Regions from separate parts of the Homo sapiens genome. Here region 2 is linked to region 1. The links are contacts of gene promoters, found by promoter capture Hi-C in human tissues and cell types (Jung and others, 2019). All regions are on one chromosome and are shown on one strand. The core of a region is centred on a gene start or on the middle of the fragment in contact, and the rest is flanking DNA. Distances in the headings are between cores, read along the strand shown. Region 1 overlaps PI4KB (phosphatidylinositol 4-kinase beta). Region 2 holds the start of POGZ (pogo transposable element derived with ZNF domain).

What was found. The method cuts DNA at HindIII sites, captures the fragments that hold promoters and counts their contacts. A contact is called where the count stands out against the background at its distance.
Region 2: the fragment with the promoter of POGZ here is called in contact with a fragment that was not itself captured in region 1 in 1 of the 25 tissues and cell types used here (lymphoblastoid cells).

What each region holds. Positions count from the first base shown.
Region 1 is chr1:151,315,704-151,323,432 of GRCh38, reverse strand. PI4KB (phosphatidylinositol 4-kinase beta) reads left to right here. Exons shown (of 12, transcript NM_001369623.2): 2 at 6,924-7,729. The coding sequence starts at 6,952. Among named protein-coding and RNA genes, the nearest start is that of PI4KB, 7.8 kb to the left of the region's middle. The HindIII fragment of the contact is 7,586 bases long and covers 1-6,944 here.
Region 2 is chr1:151,454,868-151,462,596 of GRCh38, reverse strand. POGZ (pogo transposable element derived with ZNF domain) reads left to right here and starts at 3,103. Exons shown (of 19, transcript NM_015100.4): 1 at 3,103-3,445. RefSeq lists an enhancer at 2,833-2,882 and silencers at 3,713-3,762, 3,953-4,002. The HindIII fragment of the contact is 8,213 bases long and covers 1-7,722 here.

The sequences.
Region 1 (7,729 bases), core at 1,902-4,401:
CAGGTTTAAGCGATTGTTCTGCCTCAGCCTCCCGAGTAGCTGAGATTACAGGCACCCGCCACCATGCCTGGCTAGTTTTTTATATTTTTTAGTAGAGACGGGGTTTCACCATGTTGGCCAGGCTGGTCACAAAGTGCTGACCTCAGGTGATCCACCCGCCTCAGCCTCCCAGAGTGCTGGGATTACAGGCATGAGCCACTGCACCTGGCCATTTGTTCCTCTATTTCTTTACTTATTGTTACAAACAAGGATTTAGCTTTAGAGGATATACCTCTCATTTATATAATTATGTCATTTTTATTTCTTCTACTGGACACCTGTATAACTTTAAATAATATTTAATATATTTGAACCTTTCTTTCTTTTCCATTAACTTTTGACAGTCTCTCTTAATTCACCTTGTAGAATGAACGTCAGATATTGGTTTCCTTACCCGTTTTTCCATCTCTTGTGGATCCATCTCAAAGGACTGTGAGATGTATAAAAAAAGGATAGAGGAGACTAGTTGTGGTGGCTCATGCTTTGTAATCTCAGCACTTTGGGAGGCCTAGGCGGGAGGGTAGCTTGAGGCCAGGAAGAAGCTTTCCTCCTTGGAAGCATCCCCAACCAGAAATCGTATAGTGAGCCATGATTCCACCACTGCACTCCAACCTGGGCAACAGAGTAAGAGCCTGTCTCTTAAGAAAGAAAAAGGAAAAAAATAAAAAGGCAAGGGGTGGGGAAATAAAGGATCCTTTAAAAGGAGGAAAATTGAGCCAGCCTGCCTGCTTGGAAGCAGGGCACTAGATCAGATGATCTCTTAAAGCCATTCTATGAAAATATAAGAACATAAAAATATCAGAATTGGTGCAAACCAATCCATATTTATCTAGTCCATGGAAAAAATTTTGAAAAAGAGAATGGTGATTAACTGGGTGAGGGGATTGATTTGGGGCTCTTTACCATTCTGTCCTAGCAGAGACTGATCCAATAAGTCCTTTAATGGAGGCCAGTAGAAAGTTGTTTGCCTGGAATCTTTTGAGGTGATAAGAAATGGGGAGCTAGGTTAAGCGATAGCATCTCCTCCCCAGAGAGTCCTCTGCAGACATGTATTTTAACTGCTCAGTCACACAGAACATATGTGTATATCTTCTGTGTCTTCTCCAGCTGCTGCTCTGTGTGACCTGTAACAATTCCTTGTCACTCAGACCAGAATTCCCTACTTTGCCCAGTTGGGAGCTGTGGAACTCAGTCAGTTGTCAACTTTTCCTAGGGGCCAGCTGTTAGGCTGTGGAACAGGGGAGGCCTCTTCCATTTCCCTTCCAGTCTGACTGGAAGGAGAATTTAGGTTCCCAGTGTGAAGTGTAGAGCCTCAGTTGTCTGAACCCCCTTGAAGGCCATAGGAGTCATTTAATATTAAAAATTTAGATTGTCTTCCGTCACTTTTTTCTTATTCCTCTGACTTAGAAGGGGAAGGCTGTTGAATACAGGACTTTTTCCTTCACCTTTTCTTTTGCTTTCCAGTCCTTTCATTTTCTTTAGAACAGTTACCCTCAAAGGCTTTTTTTTTTTTTTTTTTTTAAGACAGAGTCTCACTCTGTCGCCCAGGCTGGAGTGCAGTGGTGTGATCTCGGCTCACTGCAAGCTCCGCCTCCTGGGTTCATGCTATTCTCCTGCCTCAGCCTCCCAAGTGGCTGGGACTACAGGTGCCCACCACCATGCCCGGCTAATTTTTTGTATTTTTAGTAGAGACGGGGTTTCACTGTGTTAGCCAGGATGGTCTCCATCTCCTGACCTCGTGATCTGCCCTCCTCAGCCTCCCAAAGTGCTGGGATTACAGGCGTGAGCCACCATGCCCTGCCCACAAAGGCATATTTTCTTGGCATTCAAAACTAAATGAAGCAAGCTGGGCATGGTGGCGGGTGTCTGTAATCCCAGCTACTTGGGAGGCTGAGGCAGGAGAATCGCTTGAACCTGGGAGGCGGAGGTTGCGGTGAGCCAACATTGCGCCACTGCACTCCACTCCAGCCAGGGCAACAGAGCAAGACTCTGTCTCAAAAAAATAAATAAAATAAAAATAATAGTAATAATAAATAGCTAAAGCAATTTAACCCTATTCCCTACAACACCTTCTTCTCCATATGACTTGCTTCAGATGCAGGCAGTGCCTGGGTTCCTGAGAGGCCAGGGAAGAGACCCAGCTCCAGTTTGGTGGTTTCTAGTGGTAGAGCTGCTTATATAGGAGAGGAGTCTGTTTTTTCCTGCACCTCTCAACACTGTCTAGCTCCCTGAGGAGTAAAAGCTGCCGGGAGGGAGAGTCTGTTCAGTAGCAAAATCCTCTGAATACTGTGATGTGATTCTTAGCTGAGCCCTGGGAGTTTTTCTTTTGTCTGTGAGATAAAAGAGGTGATAGTATCCTTATTTGCCTTCCTGGTGCCAGTAATAATCCCAATCGTAGTTAATTGGGGCAGGCATCTGCTAAATTTTCTAGTGAGGTCTGAGACACTATTATGTGGGAGAATGTCTGAACTGTATTTCCCTTGAAAGTTTTGAAAAGTGTACTTCTAGGAGCTTTCAGTGACTTAAAAGTCTGTGGACTAGAGGGAGAGGAAAGGATGTACCAAACATAGAGACTGAGAAAAAGAAGTTGATTGTTTAAGATGATTGAGGCTATCACATGAGTTTCTAAGCAGACCTAAAAGGTAGTGGTCCCCGTTGAATCGGTGACCCTCTGATGAGAGTGCCCTACGAAGGTGTGGCAGGGAATGATTAAAGCTTCCTTCTTATTATTCCTGTGCAACTCACAGTTGCGAGTAGGGACAGATCCACATAGGCAGCCATGCTGGTTCTACTGCTCAGAGGGCACTACCTAATTTTGGGAGAGAGCATAGTGAAAGAGTTGCCACCTTCTTACCAATACCAAGCTCAATCTGCATCAGGGATATTAAATTCAGGAATGAACTTGCTTGGCAGAGTTGGCAGAAAGAAACAGAAATAGCCTTTTTTGGTGATCTCTGAGAACAGAAGAGTTCCCCATCCGTCTTTCTGCAAAACTTTAGTGGTGACTGCTGGGAGGCAGGGAGCTGGACTATATGATATTGGGCAGTTAAAAGTAACCTGGGGCCGGGCGCGGCAGCTCACACCTGTAATCCCAGCACTTTGGGAGGCCGAGGTGGGCAGATCACGAGGTCAGGAAATCGAGACCATCCTGGCTAACATGGTGAAACCCTGCCTCTACTAAAAATACAAAAAATTAGCCGGGCGTGGTGGCGGGCATCTGTAGTCCCAACTACTTGTGAGCCTGAGGCAGGAGAATGGCATGAACCCGGGAAGCGGAGCTTGCAGTGAGCCAAGATTGCACCACTGCACTCCAGCCTGGGCGACAGAGCGAGACTCCGTCTCAAAAAGAAAAAAAAAGTAACCTTAACATTTCAGACGTACAAGAACAGACACTGGAAGGGTGGTGGTGGAAAACAGCCTCCCAGAGGGACTAAAGAATCTCTAGGCCTCCTTATTCCACCTACCCAAAGTATATGCATCCAGGGTCACCGGGGTTGAAGGTGATGTCACTAATATTTTGAAATTACCTGTATTCCAACTCTACAAAATCTTTCCTCTTGCTCATGCTCTTGAGTGTGTCTTAGACTCACTCTATTAGCATTTTTGTGAAGAGGCCTCTGAGTCTGAGTCCTTTGTTAGCTATAGTCAGATTCTGGAGCCAGGTTGATCTGATGAAATTTCCCCAGTTCTGCACTGATTCCAGATTTGGTGAGGCTCTGAAGGATTGTTCTTGGAGAGCAGTGGCTTTGGTCAGCAGTGTTCTTTCATTGAACTTCCTTCCAACAGTCCCTCCAGAGGAGGTGTTCTTTGTTTTGTGACTCCTGTTCCTCCCTGTTCTTTGGAAGGCCTAGATCTATGAGTCCTAGTCTGATTTCTTTTTGCCTTTTCAATTGTCCCTCCAGTTGTTAGAATGTGTGTATGACAGTGGGGGGAGTGGTATTGGGGCAGAAAAGGCTGTCATAAGTATTTCTGGAAGATTCTCAAACAATTGGAACTCTTTGCTTCCCTTATAAAATAATATAAGTTTTATGTTACACACACACTGGTTAGTAACCTTTTAGGTGATGAGGATTCAACTAGCATTTCTTTTTTTTTTTTTTGAGACAGAGTCTCGCTGGTCTTGAACTGCTGACCTCAAAGTGATCCACCTGCCTCAGCCACCCAGTGCACTGGGATTACAGGCATGAGTCACTGTGCCCGGCCTCAACTAGCATATATTGAGTACTACTATGTATCAAAGACTGTGCTAGATTCTTTCATACACGTGATGGTATTTGTTCCACATAGCAACAATGAGAAGGAAGTGTTTTTTCCCAATTTGCAGTTGAGGATAAATGGCTTGCATAAGTTGCACATTTCTGAAAGGCTGAATGAGGATTTTCAACCCCAGCCTATTTGCCTTCAAGTCCAGAGCTCTTTCCATTATATGTTAGCAGCCACGGCACTGGAGAAAGAGGGTGTGATGTCATGATGTCAGACAACCAGAGAAACGGCACAGCTTCAGCAGGGTTGATGATGGTTGTTTTAGAGCTGCCTTCTTCTAAGTGAAGCCTGGCATGGTATTTACTGGCCTTTATTTTCTGGGAACTTCGAGTTTAAAAGGGAAGGTAAAAAAATACCTGTAACCAGAAAAATATATCAAGACTTTAATTTTATTTATTTATTTATTTATTTATTTATTTGAGACAGAGTTTCGCTCTGTTGCCCAGGCTGGAGTGCAGCGGTGCGATCTCGGCTCACCACAACCTCTGCCTCCCGGGTTCAAGCGATTCTCCTGCCTCAGCCTCCCAAGTAGCTGGGATTACAGGCATGCGCCACCACGCCCAGCTAATTTTGTATTTTTAGTAGAGACGAGGTTTCTCCATGTTGGTCAGGCTGGTCTCGAACTCCTGACCTCAGGTAATCCGCCTGCCTCAGCCTCCCAAAGTGCTGGGATTACAGGCGTGAGCCACCGCGCCCGGCCTTTTTTTTTTTTTTTGAGACAGAGTCTCACTCTGTCTCCAGGCTGGAGTGCAATGGCGTAATCTCGGCTCACTGCAACCTCCACCTCCCAGGTTCAAGCAATTCTCCGGCCTCAGCCTCCTGAGTAGCTGGGATTACAGGCGCCTGCCACCACGCCTGGCTAATTTTTGTATTTTTAGTAGAGACGGGGTTTCACCATGTTGGCCAGGATGGTCTCGATCTCTTGACCTCGTGATCTGCCCACCTCGGCCTCCCAAAGTGCTGGGATTACAGGCGTGAGCCACTGCGCCTAGCCAAGACTTTAATATTAAATAAAGATGGCTGGGCAAGGTGGTTCACACCTGTAATCCTAGTGCTTTGGGAGGCTGAGGCAGGAGAATTGCTTGAGGCCAGGCGTTCAAAGCTAGCCTGGGCAACACAGCAAGACGCCATCTGCACAAAAAAATTTTTTTTTAATTAGCTGAGCATGATGGCACACACCTAAAGTCCTAGCTACTCGGGAGGCTGAGGCAGGAGGATGCCTTGAGCCTAGGAGTTCAAGGTTACAGTGAGCTATGATCATGCCACTGCACTCCAGCCTGGGCAACAGAGCAAGACTTGTCTCTAAAAAATAAAAATAAAGGTGAGATGCACAGGACCTGTGTGTAGAATGTTATATGAGTAAGGAAATATAGTCTAAAGTGGAAAATAAAAAGGTTATAGCAGGCATTTAAAGGGAGACAGGAAGAGCAAGTGGATAGAAAAGTATTTGAAGAGTTAGGGAACAAGGGAGTAACACCTGACTTGCTTCTCAGTCTACCCGAAGAATCTGTAAATCACCAGGCATGGTGGCTCATGCCTGTAATTCCAACACTTTACGAGGCTGAGGAGGGAGGATTGCTTGAGCTCAGTTCAAGACCAGGCTGGGCAACATGGTGAGACCTTGTCTCTACAGAAAAATTTAAAAAATTAACCAGGCATGGAGGCACATGCGTGTAGTCCTGGATACTTGGGAAGCTGAGGTAGGAGGATTGCTTGAGCCCAGAAAATCAAGGCTACAGTGAGTTCTGATCGCGCCACTGCACTCCAGCCTGGGCAACAGAGCAAGACCCTGTCTCAAAAATAATAAGATTAAAAATTTAAAAATAAGCCAGGCATGGTGGTGTGCACCTGTGGTCCCAGCTACTTGGGAGGCTGAGGTGGGAGGCTTGCTTGAGCCCAGGAGGTCAAGGTTGCAATGAGCCCAGATTGTTCAACTGCACTTCAGCCTGGGTAACAGAGCAAGACCTTGTCTCAAAAAAAAAAAAAAAAAAGAATTTGTAAATGTAGGCCAGGTGCAGTGGCTCACGCCTGTAATCCCAGCACTTTGGGAGGCCGAGGTGGGTGGATCATGAGGTTGGGAGATGGAGACCATCCTGGCTAACATGGTGAAACCGTGTGTCTACTAAAAATACAAAACAAAATTAGCTGGACGTTGTGGTGGGCGCCTATAGTCCCAGCTACTTGGGAGGCTGAGGCAGGAGAATGGTGTGAACCCGGGAGGCGGAACTTACAGTGAGCTGAGATTGCGCCACTGCACTCCAGCCTGGGTGACAGAGCGAGACTCCGTCTCAACAACAACAACAACAACAACAACAAAAAGAATTTGTAAATCTATATAAATACAACATATACAAAACAACATTTCACATATATAAGCTAAGAACAGAGGCTAAGCTGAGTAACTACAGGAGGAATGACGAGTAATGTAATCAGAAGTGGAGGTAGTCAGGAAAGCTTCCTAGGATATGTCTTCTTATCTGATTTTGAAGGAGTCCAGGAAGACAAAAAGAGGAGGTGCCTGGGAAGGTGTCATAGCAAAGGGAAGATCTGAGGATGGCACCACTAACCAATGTGTGTATGTGTCTCCCTTTCTGTTCTTTTCTCCCTCCCTCTTCCTGTAGCTTGGAAGCTCGAAGTCTGGCTGTGGCCATGGGAGATACAGTAGTGGAGCCTGCCCCCTTGAAGCCAACTTCTGAGCCCACTTCTGGCCCACCAGGGAATAATGGGGGGTCCCTGCTAAGTGTCATCACGGAGGGGGTCGGGGAACTATCAGTGATTGACCCTGAGGTGGCCCAGAAGGCCTGCCAGGAGGTGTTGGAGAAAGTCAAGCTTTTGCATGGAGGCGTGGCAGTCTCTAGCAGAGGCACCCCACTGGAGTTGGTCAATGGGGATGGTGTGGACAGTGAGATCCGTTGCCTAGATGATCCACCTGCCCAGATCAGGGAGGAGGAAGATGAGATGGGGGCCGCTGTGGCCTCAGGCACAGCCAAAGGAGCAAGAAGACGGCGGCAGAACAACTCAGCTAAACAGTCTTGGCTGCTGAGGCTGTTTGAGTCAAAACTGTTTGACATCTCCATGGCCATTTCATACCTGTATAACTCCAAGGAGCCTGGAGTACAAGCCTACATTGGCAACCGGCTCTTCTGCTTTCGCAACGAGGACGTGGACTTCTATCTGCCCCAGTTGCTTAACATGTACATCCACATGGATGAGGACGTGGGTGATGCCATTAAGCCCTACATAGTCCACCGTTGCCGCCAGAGCATTAACTTTTCCCTCCAGTGTGCCCTGTTGCTTGGGGCCTATTCTTCAGACATGCACATTTCCACTCAACGACACTCCCGTGGGACCAAGCTACGGAAGCTGATCCTCTCAGATGAGCTAAAGCCAGCTCACAGGAAGAGGGAGCTGCCCTCCTTGAGCCCGG
Region 2 (7,729 bases), core at 1,854-4,353, 140 kb before region 1:
AGTAACACACCACAGAACTCAATCACCTGAAGCAGCAGCTTCACAACTCCCATCCTGGTCCAAGCTACCATCAACTCTCACCTGGATTATTGCAATAGCCTTCTATCTGGTCTCCCTGCATCTGCCCTTGCCTCTATTAGTTATTCTTCACAAGCAGCCACAGTGATCCTTTAAAAACGTGAGTCAGGCCGTGTCACTACTTGCTTTATGATCCTCCAGCAGCTTCATTTTCACTACAGGTAAAACCTAAACTTTGCTTCACTTTCTTCAGGTCTTTGCCCAAATGTCACCTTAACAAGGACTTCTCCAATCACCCCACATAAAATAGCAAATTCTCCACCCCCATGTCTGCACCACACTCCTAATTCCCCTATCCTGCCCTTTACCCTTCATAGCACCTATCACCATTTCATATAATCCATATTTATTTACATAATGTATATCAGATTGCATTTTCCAAGATGGCCACAAGATTTCCCTTTCCGCACACTTTCTTACAATGTGACATTTCCACTATTCCCGTTGAGAGATGGGGATCTATGCTCTCCATCCTGTAACTGTAATGGAAGTAACACTATATGACCTCTGAGACTAGGTCACGATCTCTGTCTGGTCCTTTTGGGGCACTCAGTCTTGGAACTCAGCCACTATGATATGAGGAAGCCCAGGCTACATGGAGAAGCCACTTGTAAATGGTCTGCCAACAACCCCAGCTGCGGTCCAAGCCAACAGTCAACCTCAACTTCCAGACATGTAAGGAAGCTTTTGAGATTACTTCAGCCCTAGCCACTGCATACGAGACTCCCAAGTGAGAACTGTTTAGCTGAGCCTAATTACCTCCCAGAACCATGAGAGGTAATGAAATTGTTGTTTTAAGCCACTAAGTTCGGGGTCATTTGTTATTTAACAATAGACAATAGAACAATTTGTTTATGTGTATATTTTATGTCTCTTTCCTTCTAGAGTATAAATCCCACAGATTCAGGTATTTGTTGTTGTTGTTGCTGCTGTATTCCCAGCACCTAAAACAGTGCCTAGTACATGTGCTCAATAATTTTTTTTTTTTTTTTGAGACAGGATCTTGCTCTGTCCCTCCCAGGCTAGAGTGCAAGTAGTGTCATCATAGCTCACTGCAGTCTCAAACTCCTGGCCTCAAGTGATCCTCCCAAGTCTTCCAAGTATCTAGGAATACCACAACCAGCTAATGAAAAAAATTTTTTGGGGCCAGGCACGGTGGCTCACGCCTGTAATCCCAGCGCTTTGGGAGGCGGAGGCGGGCAGATCACGAGGTCAGGAGTTCGAGACCAGCCTGCTTGGTGAAACCCCGTCTCTACTAAAAACAGAAAAAATTAGCCAGGCATCGTGGCGCACGCCTGTAGTCCCAGCTACTCAGGAGGCTGAGGCAGGAGAATTGCACCCAGCAGGCGGAGGTTGCAGTGAGCCGAGATCGCGCCACTTCACTCCAGCCTGGGGGAGAGAGCGAGACTCTGTTTAAAAAAAAAAAATTTTTTTTTGTAGAGATGGGATGTTGCTAAGTTGCCCAGGCTGCCCTCAGACTGCTGTGATCCTCCTCCCTTGGCCTTCCAAAGTGTTGGGATTACAGGTGTTAGCCACCATGCCCAGCCCCCAATAAATATTCATTGAATGAATGAATGGATGCATGATCCATTTTCAATAAAGCATGCTAACAGTTACTGGTCAACGGTATATGGCATAGTCTGCGCTAGATCTCATTGGCTGGGAGAATAAATTGACAGGGCATGGGGAAATATGTTGGAATTTTTCAAAGGTTAATAACGTAATATACATAATGTAAATATAACATATATAATGAATTATACTAATTACACGACAGTATAAAATAGGATTTGAGTTTCATGTAGTCTTTTGGTGATTGATCCCATAATCCTAATATGGGCTTCTCCAGATCAGGTCTGGAAAGTCTTCAGAAGTATTTTCAGAAGGATTTAGTGATTCTTCTCATTCAAATAATGAAGTCCTTCCTAAGCATCCTACACTAGTGGAAATCACTCACATGGTTTTGGTATGAAATGGAATGAAACTGGGTGGTGGCAGTGTGTGTATGTGTATGCACATGTGCACACTCACACGGGCAGGTGCATACAATTTGGAATGCCTACTTCCACTGCCTATTTTCAGTCTGGTGGTTTGAATGGAGTGTGTATATAAAGAGCACAAATAAACATAGTTCTGGATTTCCCCTTTCTGCACCAAGTACCTTGATTTCACATTTGGTTTGAAGCAAATATTTGTGTATTGCTTAAATAGCAAACATTTTCAAATATTCAAGGAAAATATTACATTTTTATAATCTCAGAAGGCAATAAAGGACAAAATTTCTTAGCTACCTGAAAAGAGGTAGTTTTTGTCTGGGGAAGAATAAACAGGTGGATGGTCGTTTGAGTGGACTAACCAATTTCTTTGAGCCAACCCATCTCAGCCTTGATTGGAGCAAAAAGCATAAGGATGTGGAGTGTGTGTGGTTTCTTGGAACTGGGGATCTCTGCTGAATCTACTCACAATGGGAGCAAAGCAGTTTCCATCACAATAATCGCTTTAACAATCGTGTGCCACTTCTTTCCAGGATCCAGAAGGGCTTGAGGATCAAAATGGCTTTTAAAAGTTCTTCACTTAAACAAGGCCGCAGCCACAAGGTTACTTGGCCGAGTGTCTCTTGAGAAAGAGTGAGTGCCATTTTGTTCTTTGTTCCAATGACAGTTGTTGGTGCCACTGGGCCTCACCACCTGGCCTGTGTCATGAAGTCTCCCTCTTGACTGGGTCTAAGCCTTGAGTGGAAAGTGGGGGAGCCTCCCAACACTTCCTTGGAAACTCTTGGCAAGTAAATTGGGGAATATTTTCTTTGGAAGTCTCATTTTTCTCACCAAAATTTAGATATAGCTTCTGAAGCTAATTATTCTTTTTTCATTACAAAAAATGTTTTCCTTTATTTATTTATTTGCAGGCCCAGCCAAACTTGACTAGAAAAGAAGCCCGGGCAGGGGTTTGGATGAGCCCATGACGTGCAGCGCGCTCCGACCAATTGGGAGGCCGTGAAAAAGGGGAGGGCGGAAGTGACGAGCCGTATCCCTCCGCGGGGCGAGAGGGTCGGTGGGGGGAGTCGGCGTCTCTCTCCCCCGCGCCAGCTCCCGTACACGGAGCCGCATTCCTTGGCCCCCCCACCCCCCTCCCTCGGGGCCCCCCCGCCCCCCTCGGGAAAAAAATCCACCCCGAATCACTCGAACCCGAGGGAGGCTTCCTTTCACCCTTGGGGAGACGAGCTTTCAACGGTTACCTCTTCTTCGTCTCCCCCCAAGCCCCCGTCCCCTCCCCCTGCTCCCACCCCCTTCTGGCGCCGGGTGTAAGGTCCCTTTAAGGCGACGGCGCCTTCCTCGGGTCAGACTACCGGCGGCGACGACCACAGGAGGTGAGTGAGCGAGCGAGCCTTCTCTCTCCCCACCCCCTGCTCCCGGGGGTTCCGTTATCTTTTCGCTCGGCGAGGCGTTCAGAGGCGAGACAATGAGAGGGGGATGGGGCCGGTACGCGCGGGGGTGGGGGCGGGGGGCCGGCGGTGCGCGCCCCCGCCCACCGCGAGTGGCGGCGCGGCCCGCGGCAGGGGCGGCCGCGGGGTGCGGCGCGCGAGCGCGAGTGTGTGTGCGTGCGCCCCGGGCCGCGGGAGCCGCGCGAAGGGCCGGCGGCGGAGGTCCCTGCCTGCCGGCTGGCCGGCCGCCCCCGCCCCCCGGCGCCCGCCGCGGCGCGCGCGCGCGCACTCGCGCCCCACGGCCCCGCACACAGCCCGACGTCCACACGCACGCTCGGCGCGAGGCGTCTCGGAGGAGTGGGCGGCGCGGGCGCGGGCGGTGGCCCGCTGGGGAAGGGGCGGGGGCGGGGGCGCGGGCGGTGGCGAGACGGCGGGGCGCGGCGGGAGGGGCCGGCGAGGGGGCGAGGCCGTGCGGCGGAGGGGCGGGCGGCGGCGGAGCGGCCCCTGGGGGTGGGGGTGCGCGGCCCTCCCCGCCCCATTCCCGCTCCGAGAAGGAGTGGGGCGCTCGTTTTGAGCGGGAGGAGGAAAATGAGTGATTGCTGAGCCGATCCCTTGTGTTATGTAATCTCTGCTTGGTCTAATAGTACATCCTAAGCCTTAGTGCACTGCAGCTAGTTTACGAAGTCTCCTCCCTCGGTCCCCAAATTTCTTTTGGGATGGCGCCGTGATTTATAAAATGGAATGAGGCGGGGAATCTTTATTTTCTGGTGATTATGTCCTGCCGCGGTGGGCGCCATGTTTATCCCGGGGACTATTTTATTTAGATTCTTGGCACCTTTTGCAAAGGAGTACTGTCATTGATCTATTTGTTTTCCGTCTTTCTGCGTGTTGTTCTTATTTCCTTCCTCTCCAGATGTGGGATTCTCTCAAACTGCTAGTAGCACTTGTCTTAGACATTCTTAGTTCAGAAAAAGGTAGTGCTGATGAGTCCTTAGAGTCATTTAGTGGCCAGTCTCATTTTCGAAATGGAAACTAAGATGCAGTTGGACTATCTCACAGCAGCCGCCGTCTTGATGCAAGCGGTGTAGCCCGTCCTTCCAAGCCCGTAGACACCTCTTACCGCCGCTCAAAACTCCACAGAAATGGGGTTTTACTTTTTTTTTTTTTTTTGAGACGAAGTTTCACTCTTGTCGCCCAGGCTGGTGTGCAGTGGCACGATCTCTGCTCACTGCAACCTCCGCCTGCCGGGTTCCAGTGATTCTCCTGCCTCAGCCTTCCTAGTAGCTGGGATTACAGGCATGTGCTACCACGCCCGGCTAATTTTTGTATTTTTAGTAGGGACGAGGTTTCACCATGTTGGCCAGGCTGGTCTTGAACGCCTGACCTCAGGTGATCCGCCCGCCTTGGCCTCCCAAAGTGCTGGGATTACAGGCGTCAGCCACCGCGCCCGGCCGGGTTTTACTTCTGTAGGCATTTACCCAACTAGAGGAAAGGGAAACGGAGGGGGCAGGGAGGGCTGCTCGTTGGCAAACGATTAATTTTGAGACACTATTGCTCAGGGTCTGAGAGCTTGAACTCTGAATTCGAACTGTTAGCACAATCGTTCTCAACTTCGGGGTGCATAAAAAGTAACTTGAAGGTGGTTAAACGTACAATTTGGGGGGCCTCATCCCCCAAATTTATTTGAATGGAGCAGAGGGGGGTTGTCATCTTTACATTTTCAAATGAGCAGTCCTGGGGCTGAGACTGATTAATGTAACCACTACATTGAGAATTACTGGTCTAACATAAAAGTGTTCAAGATGTTGAAACAAGTGACACCTTGTGCCGTTGATTTCCTTCCCTTTTCCAGAGCTGTGTTGGTGGTGTATCTCAAACTAAAGGAGGTAACAGAATGGACTCTTGGGACGAACCTGATTTAGTTAGAGTTTCCACTCCCATCTTGAACTAGTGGTATAATGTAGGAAAGCAGTTCTCAAAGTGTGGACAGATGACCCATGGGGATCTCCTCTTACCCTTTCAGGGTAGCCTCAAGGTCATAACTATTTTCAAAATAATAGTAAGATGCTATTTATTGTTTTCACTGATACACTGATGGTTCAAAAGCAAGGCTGGGTAAAACTACTGGCGGTACCTTAGCACAAAGCAAGTCAGGGGCACCAAACTACTTGAGAATGCCCTTGAAGCAGTAAAATTTATTATTCTATTTTTATTTTTTTGAGGCGGAGTTTTGCTCTGTCGCCCAGGGTGGAGTGCAGTGGCACTATCTCGGCTCACTGCAATCTCTTCCTCCCTGGTTGTATTTTTAGTAGAGACAGTGTTTCGCCATGTTGGCCAGGCTGGTCTCGAACTCCGGACCTCAGGCGATCCACCTGCCTCGGCGTCCCAAAGTGCTGGGATTACAGGCATGAGCCACCGTGCCCGGCCTATTATTATTAAGTCTTAGCTTTTGACTACATGTCTTTTTAATTTTTAAGAATTTGTGATTAAATAAACATGGATAAAGCATTTATGCTGCCTAGGGAGGTGTGATTGTTGTCATGAAGGAAAAGCATTTGTGAGATTGGGTTGTGAATGAATGGCTTATTTCATGGAGTAGCATTTTTACTTGAAAGAACGACTAGCAGACTATGGTTTTTCACACTTAGTATTTGGCAGATATTTCTTGAAAATGAAGTGAGCTTGTCACTTTTAGGAAAACAACTGACAGTATTTATTACCAGTGATAAAATTTGGGTGAAAATTAGAATTTTTAAAAAGTTGACAGCTGGAGTTTGACAGCTTCCTAGTACTTAAAAGACTTTCCTTATGATATCAGTGGTTAAGGACTGCAATATTTTAAAATGTTGTTTAATGAAATATGTTATTTGGAAGATGGGCATAACTCAGTAAATCTAGGCTTTGCAAATGACCAATGCATGATGTTGCAAAATCAAGCAAAGGCAAAAGATCCTTTGAAAATTCCAGACATAGCAATGGATTTTAACAGTAAAAAAGTGGATTGATGTGGTTTCAGATTCCAAAATGTTAACTGTCCTTTAAGAAACTACTATTTGGCCTAGCGTGGTGGCTCACTCCTGTAATCCCAGCACTTTGGGAGGCCAAGGTGGAAGGATTGTGTGAGCCCAGGAGTTGGAGTTGAGCCTGGTCAGCATAGTGAGACCCTGTCTCTATTTATTAAAAAAAAAAAAAAAAAAAAAAAAGAAAGAAACTACCGTTTGTTGAGTTTTAGTATTTACCAAACACAGTTATCTGAAAAGGTTATTAAAATACTTCTCCCTTTTCCGACTAGATTTTCATTATATACTTAACCAAAGCTACATATAGCAACAGACTGAATGCAGAAGTAACTGTGAGAATCCAACCATCTTTTATCAAGTTAGACATAAAAGAGATTTGCAAAATGCAAAACAACGTTACTTTTCTCACTTTTTGGAGGGAAAGTATTTTTTGTTGAAATGTTATTTATGTTAACTTATAATGGGCTTGTCTTAAAATACATTGATAAATACTACATTTTAAAAATTTGTGGTAAATGTGGAAAGATAAAATTCACATAAACAAAAGATCTTTGGCGTCTTCAATAATTTTAAGAGTCAAAAAAATGAGAATCATTCAGTCAGTCCTATGTTTCTGCTCTTTACATCATTCAAATCTAACTCCCTTGGGGAACTTGGGAGAATTTATAAATAGTTGAAGTTGATGGAAGAGGCAGTGACCTGGGGAAGAATTCTAAAGCAAAAAAAGCTTGCTTTGAATCCTAACTGGGATATTTACTAACTGTAACCTTGAGGAAGTTACTTCGTCTCTCTAAACCACTGTTTTGACCTTATCTGTAAAATAAAAACTTTAGAGCTGGTTGATTACAAATCCTAGAGCTGGTTAATGCCTTTGCCATAATATCAATATGGTAACATTTTGATAGATTCTTTGGTATTCTTGTTTGTGATATTAAGCCATATTCACAAAAACTTGTCTTTTTTTTTTTTTTGAGATGGAGTCTCGCTCTATTGCCCAGGCTGGAGCGTAATGGCGCAATCTCGGCTCACTGCACCCTCCGCCTCCTGGGTTCAAGCGATTCTCCTCCTTCAGCTTCCTCAGTAGCTGGGATTACAGGCACGCGCCACCACACCTGGGTAATTTTTGTATTTTTCTAGAGATGGGGTTTCACCATATTGATCAGGCTGGTCTCAAACTCCTGACCTCTTGATCGACCCGCCTTGGCCTCCC